4 separate regions of the Homo sapiens genome follow, and regions 1, 2 and 4 are each linked to region 3. The links are contacts of gene promoters, found by promoter capture Hi-C in human tissues and cell types (Jung and others, 2019). All regions are on one chromosome and are shown on one strand. The core of a region is centred on a gene start or on the middle of the fragment in contact, and the rest is flanking DNA. Distances in the headings are between cores, read along the strand shown.

Region 1 (2,700 bases), core at 91-2,590, 350 kb after region 3:
CTGTGATCTCGGCTCACTTCAGCCTCCGCCTCCTGGGTTCAAGTGATTCTCGTGCCTCAGCCTTCCGAGTAGCTGGGACTACAGTCATGCACCACCATGCCATGCTAATTTTTGTGTTTTTTGTAGAGACGGGGTTTTGCCATGGTGGCCAGGCTGGTCTTGAACTCCTGACCTCAAGTGACCCACCCTCCTCGGCCTCCCAAAGTACTGGGATTATAGATGTGAGCCACAGTGCCTGGCTGCTTTGCTCATTTTTTAAATTGGGTTGGTGGTTTTTTTGTTGTTGAGTTTTAGTAGTTCTCTATATATCCTGTTTATTAATCCTTTATCAGGTATATGATTTTAAAATATTTTCTTCCATTCTGTGTGTGGTCTTTTTACTCTGTTGATAGTGTATTTTGATGCACATAAAAATTTAATTTTCATGAAGTCTAATTTGTCTTTTTATTTTGCTATTAGTGCTTTTGGTGTCATATGCAAGAAATCATTGCCAAATCCAGTGTCATGAAGCTTTTCCTCTATGTTTTCCTCTAGGAGTTTTATTGTTTTAGTCTTACATTTATGTCTTTGTTCCATTTTGAGTTAATTTTTATATATGCTATTAGGTAAAGATCCAGCTTCATTCTTTTGTGTGTGGATGTTCAGTTTTCCCAGCACCAGTTGTCGAAAAGATTGTTCTTTCACCATTAAATGGTCTTGGCACCCTCATCAGAAATCATTTGACTATACATCTGGGCTCTCTATTCTATCAGTCTGTATGTCTATCTTTATGTCAGTACCACACTGTTTAGATTACTGTAGCTTTGTAGTAAGTTTTGAAATCAGAAAATGTGACTTATCCAGCTCTGTTCTTCTTTTTCAAGATTGCTTTAGCTATTCGGGGCCCTTTGATATTTCATATGAATTTAGGATAGGTTTTTCTATTTCTGCAAAAAAGTAATGGTATTTTGGTAGAGATTGCATTACATTTATAGATTGTTTTGGGTATTATTGATATCTTAACAATATAAAGTCTTCCAATCCATGAGCATGGAATATGTTTCCATTTATTTATGTCTAATTTTTCTCACTAATGTTTTGTACTTTTCATTGTACAAGTCTTTCACCTCCTTAGTTAATTCCTACTTTTTTTTTTTTTTTTTGAGATGGAGTTTCACTCTTGTTGCCCAGGCTGGACGGTCCCATGTTTGGAACAGAGTGGGGCCGGGGGCCATTCCAGAAGAGTACCCAGGAGAGAATGGGCTCTGAGCCGGCTGCCCAGCCCCCTCCTGCTGTATGCGGCTCTGTGGAGAGCGCATGGCCTGTTTGAGGGCTTCTCCCCTCCCCTCTCTGCTGCCTGGTCCGCTGGAGCTCTCCCTTCGCCACCATGGGGCTCAGTTAAAGAAAACACTGATCCGAGCAGATGAGGGGAGGAACAGCCCTGCTGGGGACAGAGGTGGGCGTGGGGGCATGTTGTCTCCCCTGATGTGCAGGCGGTGGCTGGGGGAGTGTCGGGCGGGGGGAGTGTGGATGAAAGCCCAGACTCCAGCCTGTGGGTCCCATCTCTAGACTTCCCGACTCCCAGGTTCCCCAAAAGGTCTGTAGTGTCCCGGGCACCCAGGCCCCGATCTCAGATGGAGGGGGCACAGTGTCTCCCACAAGCGGCTCAGCCCAGCCTCAGGGCTCCTCACGCACACCCAGGGCCTCTGGAGTGGGCAACTCCTGCATCCTCTGCTTCCCTCAGCTCAAAACCAGGGCAAGTTCGAAATGCGTGCTCGCCCTTCTTGACCCCTGCTCAGCCGAGCCCCAGGTTGGGGGTGGGTATTGGAGGTGAGGCAGCCTCTGGCCTCATTGGAGGGGGTTGGTGGGCTGAGCAAACTGGCAGAGGATGTGCCCTACAGGGTGGGTGTGAGGTGGGGAGCAACTGAGGCAGATGCCTGTGTGGCCCTGCTGACCTAGCCCAGGCAGGGTGTGACAGGTCTGTCCAGCCCTGAGGGCACAGCTGTCTCCAGTCTCCAGCTCATTCCTGATCCCCAGGGTCACGTGTCCAGAAAACCTGGGCACTCAGATCAGCTGGGCACAGATGGCCTGTCCTGCCTCTGCACCCCCATAACTCCCTGTCAGCGCTGGCCCACACCTAATCAGCCAGCCAGTACCGAGGAGTGGGCCCAGCTTCCAGCGGGGAGGGCGCTGGCCAAGGTGCTGACCAAGCTGGCAGACACAGGAAACCAGCCTGTCCCTCTGCGGGCCTCTGCCTTGCTCCCACTGCACAGACCTGTGGGGAAGTGGAGGCCCAGGCCCCAACCCAGAGCAACTGGGGACAGCTGGGCTTGGTGGCTGGAGAGGGTTCTGATACCAGAAGTCTCCAGGGCAGCCCTGGCTCCCCATTTCCTCCCATGCCCATCCCATGCCCCAGAATGGTCACTTCGGCTGCTCCAGGAGGGGTGGGAGGGGCATTAAACCTATGAGAGAGGGGGTGGGGTCACAATCTTCAGCTGTAGTGGGCCGCTCTGGGTCACTGATAATGGAAGTGACGCCTGCACAGTAAGCACAGAAGTGTCTCAAGGCCTCTCTGCAAGCACAGAGCAGCCCAAGACTGGAGCCTGGTCCACCCCAGTGCTGTCCTCAGACTGATGGCCAGTGCCACATGACTCATCTAGGGTCTGATACATCCCTGTGGCAAGAGCTCAGTTCCTAGTCTGAAGGCTGCTGTGTGCAGGG
Region 2 (2,718 bases), core at 121-2,620, 430 kb after region 3:
CTCAGCTCACTGCAGCCTCCGCCTCCGAGGTTTAAGCGATTCTCATGCCTCAGCCTCCTGAGTAACTGGGACTACAGGTACTCACCACCACGCAGGGATATTTTTTTCTGTTTTTTTGTAGAGACACGGTTTCACCATGTTGGCCAGGCTGGTCTCGAACTCCTGACCTTAGGTGATCTGACAGCCTCGTCCTCTCAAAGTACTGGGATTACAGGCATGAGCCACTGCGCCCGGCCTCTCACTACGTTTAAGTGATGCCATGGCTCATGCCTGTAATCCTAGCACTTTGGGAGGCCAAGGCAGGTGGATCACCTGAGGTCAGGAGTTCGACACGAGCCTGGCCAACATGAGGAAACCCCGTCTCTAGTAAAAATACAAAAATTAGTCAGGCGTGGTGGTACAAGCCTGTAGGCCCAGCTACTTGGAAGGCTGAGGCAGGAGAATCACTTTAACCGGGAGGCAGAGGTTGCAGTGAGCCAATATCATTCCACTGCACTCCAGCTTGGGTGACAGAGTGAGACACCGTCTCAAAAAAAAAAGAAAAAAAGAAAGAAAAAAATGTGATGCCGGGGCATCTCAGCCTCAATACCTGCATGAGCACAGTCATGTCCAGGCCAGGGCTGCTGGTCGAGGTCTGGCCCCATCTCTTCTAGAAGAAAGGGAGTAAGCTTGCAGGGAGGCTGGGGGACAAGATCCCAGGATCTCAGCCTCCGCTCATGGATCAGCTCTGAGACCCTGACTGAGCTGGGGGTGCTCTGTGTGCACTGGTTTCCCCAGCTGTCAAGTAAAGGGATTGGATGAGGAAGTCTTGTCAAGGTGGAATGATCTCAGATTTGGGGCAGCAGTGAATGATCCCGCTCCCTGGGCCCATGCCAGTGGCCTGGCCTCGGCTGAACACAGCCCCAACACTCTGGAATGGGGATGAGGGGGAAGTCAGCTCTTGCTCTTAGTAAGAGAGATGCAATAGGGCTCTGTGGCTGAGCTGGGTGCCTTGCCTCACACCTGTAATCCCAACCTTTGAGAGGCTGAGGCGGGAGGATTGCTTGAGGCTGGGAATTTTGAGAATAGCCTGGACAACATAGCCAGACCCCATGTCTACAAAATAATAAGAAAACACACAGCTATAGTCCAAGCTACTTGGCAGGCTGAGGCAGGAAGGTCCCTTGTGTCCGGGAATTGGAGGCTGCATTGAGCTATAATCGCACCACTGCACTCCAGCTTGGGTGACAAAGTGAGACCCTGTCTCTAAAAGAAAAAAATATCGGCCTGTGAGCATGGGTTTGATCTTCAAACAGGACCCGGAGGGTAGGGACAGACAGTGCTGTCACCCTTAGGTGCTGAACACTCAGAAACGGGCCAGCGGCAGTCCTTTCCTCACCTGCAGACACCAGATTGGGCAGAACAGCACGTGGCACTTGCAGCTCTTGCAGTGAGGGCAGAACCCAGTGTCAACCCTTCTGCCTGTGGGAGGGGCTGCTGAGGCCTGCGGAGAGGCCAGGGTGGAGGCTCGTCCCCTTGTCCAGCCCTTGGCGTGGTCTCCACCAGGTCCCCAGTCCACCAGTGCAGGGCTCCCCTGAGCCTGCTGCTGCCACGGGCCCTGTCTCTACCCAGGACGTCCCCCCACCCTCGCAGTGTCAGGGAAATGATCATGGTGGCGGTGACACTCCGCAGGCAGGGCTGCTGAGAGAAGCTGAGAAGGGTCACACTGCAGGCAGGCGCCCGTGTGACAAGCCCCTCTCACCCCGAGAGAGCTGACCAGGCAGCTCACGAGCAGAGCCACATCCCGGGAGTCCGAGAAAGGTCCTGGCTGGGCTCAGCCACCTCACTGGCCACGGGCAGCCTTTGTCGTGTGAGCCTTGCTCTCCTGGGGAGGCTCAGGCTGACAGCTGTGGGCATTGCCGAGGGTAACCTGTGGCCCAGTGTATATGGCCGGCTCTCCTCAAGCTGCATTCATTCAAGTAGGACCCAGGGTGCATGCCCATCTCCAGCCCAGGGCAGCTCCCCTGTAAGCTGGGTGAGCTACTGAAGCCAAGGCGGGAGGCAGCTGACAACACCCACGGCCCATGCGGAGGTGGTGGAAAGGCTGGACTCAGCAGCAACACCAAATCCCGGACCAGGCAGAAACCACCCAAGACTGAGGGGCTCGTGCCAGAGCGGTGGCCACAGGTAAGAACCCGGGCCCAGGGTGGCAGGAATCCTCCATGTCCCAGGGCTTAGCATAGCAAAGGAAGACCAGCCGGGTCACCCTGGTGGCCATCTGTCCCTGTCCCACCTGCAGAGTCAGAACAGCCTCTCCCCAGTGGGGATCATCTCTCTCTGCCAAAGCAACAGCGGTCCCTGCCCCAACCAGACTACCCCACTCAGTGGGGTTACGGATGCTGCTCCAGCATCCTAACACTGCCCAGCTGGTGCCTGCCTGTGCTCACCCACACCCCCCAGGCCGGCCTTCCCTGCAGCCTGGGCTTGGCCACCTTGGCCTGATTGAGCACTGAGGCCTCCTGGGCACCCAGCCCTATCACTGCACCTGCTGCTTCCAGCCCCACCCCACCGGCTCAGGGGTTCTTCCCAGCGGCGCTGATCATGAAGTCAACATGCACGCAAGTCGTCTCAGGAAACTTTTTAATGAAAGTGTCGGCCACGGTGGTGTGTAGGTGGCTGAGCTCAGATTGCAGCTGCTAAGACACCAGCCACTTACCAAGAGAAAGCCAGGCTGCTTCA
Region 3 (2,861 bases), core at 243-2,742:
AGACTATTGGGGCATGGCCCAGACTCCCCCACCATGGCCCCCTGGGGGCTCAAACTGGTAGCCTGACCTTCCTGTGACCTGAGGAGCCGGAGGGAGAAAAAGGAACCAGCCCTTGCCGCCCCCAACTCTGCATGGCTGGTTATGGTCCAAGGGTTATGGCTCTAGGGTGGCTGGTCCCCATGGAGCTCAGGCTGTTGGCTTGGGGAGGGGCAGCCACTGCCTACCCCTTGGAGTCTGTGCCCAAGGCCCGACAGAGCATTAATGGGGCAGGAAGGCAGGTGTGTGTGGGTAGCATTGGAGGCACTCGAGCGCCAAGGCTGAGGGTGCTGAAGGCAGGTGGGCGGCTGGGGCAGAATCCTTTTTCCCAGGGACAGTGTGTTCTCCTGATGTCCTGTGATTGGGCCAAGGTCTGCGGAGGGAAGCTCTCCCACAAGCTGGGCAGCTGCACCTGAGGGGGGGGTGTCATGGGCAGAACACTGGGTGGAGGGGCCAGTCTTGCCATCAGCAGCAAGGAGGGGGCGGAGATTCCTTTTCTTTTTTTTTTTTTTGTTTTTTGAGATGGAGTCTCGCTCTGTCGCCCAGGCTGGAGTGCAATGGCACTATCTTGGCTCACTGCAACCTCCGCCTCTCAGGGTCAAACGATTCTCCTGTCTCAGTAGCTGGGATTACAGGCGCTTGTCACCACTCCCGGATAATTTTTAGTAGAAACAGGGTTTCACCATGTTGGTCTGGCTGAGTCTCGAACTCCTGACCTCGTGATCCACCCGCCTCCGCCTCCCAAAATGCTGGGATTAAAGGCGTGAGCCACCGCGCCCGGCCAAGGGGGCGGCCATTTCAAGAACACATTCCTCTTCCCTCCCGGTGCGCCTGAGAGGAGGCGCTTCATGTCGAAGTCAGCCCTGGGATGCAGAGAGTTGGGGGGCTCAGGGTCCTGGGATGGTCTCGCAGACACTCCTAGTTCTTCGCCTGCCCCTTCTCATCTCTATTTCTGTGGGGGCGGGGAGGGCAGACAGGAACAGGGCTACCCTTGAAGCAGGTTGGGGGAGGGGGATCCTAACAGGACCCCGGTGCCTGTGGACAGTGACAGGGTCGACAGCTCTGGGGCTCCACTCTCCTTTCCCTGAAGACCCCAGCTGCCTCAGTGGCTTCTGGCTTGCACCCAGCACCAGCGCAGATGCCCCGAGTGCCGGCGGCTCGAGGTCGGCCCGCCCGTCCGGACCTGTTTCCTCCTCTGCTCTCCTGCCAACGCCTGCCCATCTCTGTTTCCCCCACGTCCAGCACGCGCTTCGGGGACGGCCAGAGCCACCATGCCGACTGGAGAGACTCTCCTGATTCGGGTCCTTGTGTCCCGGGGCCCGGGCGGCTTCGCGCGGCGACAACCGGCGCGGTGGGACCACCGAGACGCCGGGACCTCCGCGCGGCCTAGAGTGGTCCCGGAAGTGCCCGCGGGCCGGGGGCGGGGCTCTGGGTGCTCGGGCGGCCGCGGGCTCCGCGTCAGCAGCTGCTGTGGAGCCAGGCAGCGTCGGCCGCGTCGGCCGCGGGTTGGAGCAGCTCAGGTGCGGCCCCGCCCCGCCCGCCTGCGGCCCCGCCCCGGCCCAGGTGAGCTGCCCCGCCCCGGCCCAGGTGAGTGGCCCCGCGTCCGCCGGTGTGACCTGAGTCCGCCTGACCACCTGTCCCTCCGGTGGCCCTGGGTGTGCGTGTCCCCAATCGCGGGGAAGCCTGTAGGGGCGCCACGTCGCCGCCTGGGCAGCGTGTGCGGGTCCGTGGCAACTCTTGGGCCCCCAGCCAGGAAACCTTGACTGCACTAAGAGTTTGCAGGGTGCCCAGGCCCTAGGGACTCTCTGGAGGATGGGATGACAGATGCAGGAGGACCCGGAGAAGGCCCCGACAGAGGTGGGAAGCATGGAGTTCCAGATCTTTGCATTTTCGGTCCAAAAACACTTATCATGTTGTGGGAGACAGATAAAGGGTTGCCAACTTTTTTCTGAGTGGAGACTTCAGGGTGTAGGGGCTATATAGTGGGAATGGAAAACCTCTACGGAGGGAAGTTTGAGAACACCAGGACTTAATGGGTGGGCGGAGGAAGAGTTGCAATCTAAAGATATCAAGAAAGAGAACTTGGAAGCCATGAAAATTGGGAAGAAAGCGAGGGTGGGGATGGGGTTGGGGGGTAGCTCAAAGCTTTCATGCACCTAGGTAGGCAATGTGGGCGGGTGAAGGGATATTGTCACATCTTCGTTTTTCAAGAGAAAGCCAGAAACCTACTGAGTTTTAAATATTGGTAACTAAGGAAAATGAACAGGAAAAGCCAAACTCTTCGAGAGCCAAACATAACATAGCAGGATCTTCAGGCTGCCAATTTGCAACCTCTGAAATGAAGGGTTTTGAGAAGGAGGTATTGGAGAGCAGTGCCAGATGGGGTGGGAAGGTGAAGACCGAGAAGAGAGGGATTGGCAATAAGGAGGTCATAGAATGCCAGAGCTGAGGTCCCAGCTGAAATCGGAAACTCGAAATTTGTCGTGGTGCCATACATAGTTGTATGATTTTTCTTGGCAACATTTAACAACTTAGGAGGAACTGGCCGAGAAGACTGGGACTTAGCGGCTAGTTGCAGCCGGACGAGGAGGTGAGGAGCATGGTGCTAGAGCGTGAGAGTTGAAGTGATGCGCATAGTATGGAGAGTCTAAGCTGGATGGAGAAGGGGTGGAGCTAGAAAAGGAGAACTACAGTAAAAATGGCTTGGATTTCATGAGGTCGAAAAGCACAAATTGAGTGAGAGAGCTGGAAGAGTTGGAGATTATGGGTTGCTGAAGAGGAGGGGGAGGGTGAGAGGAGTTGAAGTGATCAAAGAATTTTTGAAA
Region 4 (2,894 bases), core at 136-2,635, 270 kb after region 3:
CTCCCGCCCCAAATTAAGTTATTCCCTTGAGGAGAATATGGCAAAGTCTATTTTAATGTAGTTTTTAACCTAATTAAGAACCTATGAAATCATTACTTTCAAAAAGTTTGGAGAAAAGCCACAGTAGTACAGATGGGTTTGAGGCTTTTCACACAATAAAATGTACCTATCTTTGTTTTTGACATGTTTTTCCTTCCTCTCTTCTTTTGTTGTGAAATGTGTATTTAGTTTAATAAATTTGTAGTAAGTCATGTCCATTCACATATCAATTTTAAATGTAATAAGAATGCGTATTGTCTGTGTGTGAAATAAAAAACATTTATTTTTATGCTTTGGGAGTTATCCAAAATCATAGAATTGTCAATTACAGTCAATCACCCAACCTACTCACCTTTCCAGAGTAGTCTTAGTCAAATTTTTTTTTTTTTTTGTTTCCCAATGAAATGCAGTATTTCAACACAGAAAGATAAATAGAATGAATTGGTAGAGACTGTTAACTAAGAACATACAGTTTTATTTATACTCAGAAACAAATAGATCATATACATATATATGAAGATAAAAATTAAAGGGATAATTGTGTAAGTTTGCATGTAGAAAGCTTTGAAAACCTGTTTACTTGTTAATGCTGTTTTGATGTATTGTGTGACTTAGTTCTCCCGACCCATCATCCAGAGCTCTCTCTAGGAGCTAAGTGCTCATCAGTTCTGTGAGTTGGAAACTAAGTTTAGAGGCACTTGTATTTGTTAGTAAATAAGGCAACATGATATTCTTTCACAGGTTTTAGTGCAGAAGACTGAATAGATAAGCTGCTCCACCCAGTACACTGGTGTTCATTTCATGGTCATCTCATATGTTGATCGTGGATATAAAACACTTATCTTCAATGACCTTCCTGTATATGTAAAAGCACGCCTGTCTACATGGCAGCAGTTGGACCTCACAATGTGGATTGTGCCTTCACCCTGAACTGTCTATGATGCCCTATCGTCATAGTGATGGGATTAGGGATCTCTTGCCCTTTGCTCTGCCCCTGTCTGTGCCAGCCAGGCCACTGGGTCGTTGTGGCAGATAGTGGTATCCTTTGTCAAGGGAGTTGCAACCAGGGTGATACATGAGACTAATGATTAGGTGGTATATTGTGTTCTTGTCTTGTCACCAGGTTGTGTAGCTCACAGACTTTTTTTTTTAACATTTCTATAGCTGTCATTTGAAGTTTGTAATGCCATCAAATATCAATAACGGTTCTTCCCATTATTTATCATGGAGGGCACTGAGTGTGCACTCAGGCAGACACAGCACTTTTGACAACTTTATCTGCTTCTTTCAAAACTGGGTCTGAATTATGATAAAGTGGTTGGGTTTAGGCCAAGCAGGTGTATTTCATAGAGCAATGGGTTGGGAGTTCAGAATCCTGGACTTGAATGAGTCTCTGAGCCTTATTAAGCTGTGAAATCTAAAGCAAGACATTTCACTGATAATTAAGCCTCATGAGCACTTATGCTGTATACTTTACCTACATCGAATCATTCAGCCATCACCACAGACATATGGCATGATTGATTTACTATCATCTTTTGCTGGGCAGAAAAAGACGGAGATGAATGTGCCCAAGCTTATGAGCCCCTAAGCAAAAGAGCCAAGATGGGAACCCAAGCATAGGGCCCCAATGCTGAGGCTCTGAACTACTGACCTGCCCTCAGCACTCAGCTGTGGGATCATGAGTCACTGTGCAAAGGACTTCCAACATCTGCATGTATGTCTGGAATGATCTGAGCCTGCAGAGTTCCTACACACTAGCCACATTATAGCATGGTGTCCATGGTCACATAGCTCAGGGCAGGTATTAGTACATGAATAACTTAGGTATGTCATAGTCTTTATGTGAAAGGCACATAAAAGTCCAAATGCTTTTGAACTGGTTGCGGATTTTGAGTTGGAGAACAGCACTTGGGACAACCGATCACATTCTTTCAGCGCTCGGCCACTCCTCAGCACATATCCCAAAGCTGATAAATAATGGGAAGACCCTTTATTGATATTTGATGGCATTATGAACTTCAAATGACCGCTAAAGAAATGTTAAAAAAAAGTCTGTGAGCTACACAACCTGGGGACAAGACAAGAACACAAAATACCACTTAATCATTAGTCTCATGTATCACCCTGGTTGCAACTCCCTTGACAGCTGGTTCGAAGAGCCTCAGTGCTCACCAGGGGCCATCTCCCCGCTCTGCCCTCTCTCCCTGTGGGTTGCCTGGGCTGAACATAGGTAGCTCCTCACATGATGACTGCAAACACAGGGCAAAGGAAGACTGAACGGAAAATGTACGGTTATAGTGGTTATTTTAAAATATAAGCATTTCAGTATTTTCTAATCTTTAATAATTGATTTTTTTGGGGGGGGGCTTTTTTTTTGGCAGAGTCTTGCTCTGTTGCCCAGGCTGGAGTGCACTGGCACAATCTCGGCTCACTGCAACCTCTGCTTCCTGGACTCAAGCAATTCTCCTCCCTCAGCCTCCCAAGTAGCTGGGACAACAGGCGCATGCCACCACGCCTGGCTAATTTTTTGTGTTTTTAGTAGAGACGGGATTTCACTGTGTTAGCCAGGATAGTCTTGATCTTCTGACCTCATGATCCGCCCACGTTGGCTTCCCAAAGTGCTGGGATTACAGGCGTGAGCCACTGCACCCTGCCGGTTTTTTTGTTTTGTTTTGTTTTTCTGATATGGAGTCTCACTCTGTTGCCCTGGCTGGAGTGCAGTGGCACGATCTCAGCTCACTATAGCCTCCGCCTCCAGGTTCGAGGGATTCTCCTGCTTCAGCCTCCTGAGTAGCTGGGATTACAGGCACATGCCACCATGCCTGGCTATTTTTTTTTTTTTTTTTAACTAG

Evidence for each region. The method cuts DNA at HindIII sites, captures the fragments that hold promoters and counts their contacts. A contact is called where the count stands out against the background at its distance.
Region 1: a fragment that was not itself captured here is called in contact with the fragment with the promoter of ZNF70 in region 3 in 1 of the 25 tissues and cell types used here (lymphoblastoid cells).
Region 2: a contact is called between a fragment that was not itself captured here and the fragment with the promoter of ZNF70 in region 3, in 1 of the 25 tissues and cell types used here (spleen).
Region 4: a fragment that was not itself captured here is called in contact with the fragment with the promoter of ZNF70 in region 3 in 1 of the 25 tissues and cell types used here (IMR-90 fibroblasts).

Annotation. Positions count from the first base shown.
Region 1 is chr22:23,404,328-23,407,027 of GRCh38, reverse strand. No RefSeq gene overlaps it. Among named protein-coding and RNA genes, the nearest start is that of LINC01659, 28 kb to the left of the region's middle. The HindIII fragment of the contact is 6,786 bases long and covers 1-2,700 here.
Region 2 is chr22:23,317,922-23,320,639 of GRCh38, reverse strand. It overlaps BCR (BCR activator of RhoGEF and GTPase), which reads right to left. Exons shown (of 23, transcript NM_004327.4): 23 at 2,603-2,718. It also overlaps the pseudogene POM121L11P. Among named protein-coding and RNA genes, the nearest start is that of LINC02556, 7.3 kb to the left of the region's middle. The HindIII fragment of the contact is 3,644 bases long and covers 1-2,718 here.
Region 3 is chr22:23,749,743-23,752,603 of GRCh38, reverse strand. It overlaps ZNF70 (zinc finger protein 70), which reads left to right and starts at 1,492. Exons shown (of 2, transcript NM_021916.4): 1 at 1,492-1,893. RefSeq lists enhancers at 217-276, 1,117-1,176, 1,059-1,734 and a silencer at 1,327-1,776. The HindIII fragment of the contact is 11,413 bases long and covers 1-2,861 here.
Region 4 is chr22:23,483,746-23,486,639 of GRCh38, reverse strand. All of the region lies in intron 1 of FAM230I (family with sequence similarity 230 member I), which reads left to right. Among named protein-coding and RNA genes, the nearest start is that of FAM230I, 1.8 kb to the left of the region's middle. The HindIII fragment of the contact is 4,580 bases long and covers 1-2,894 here.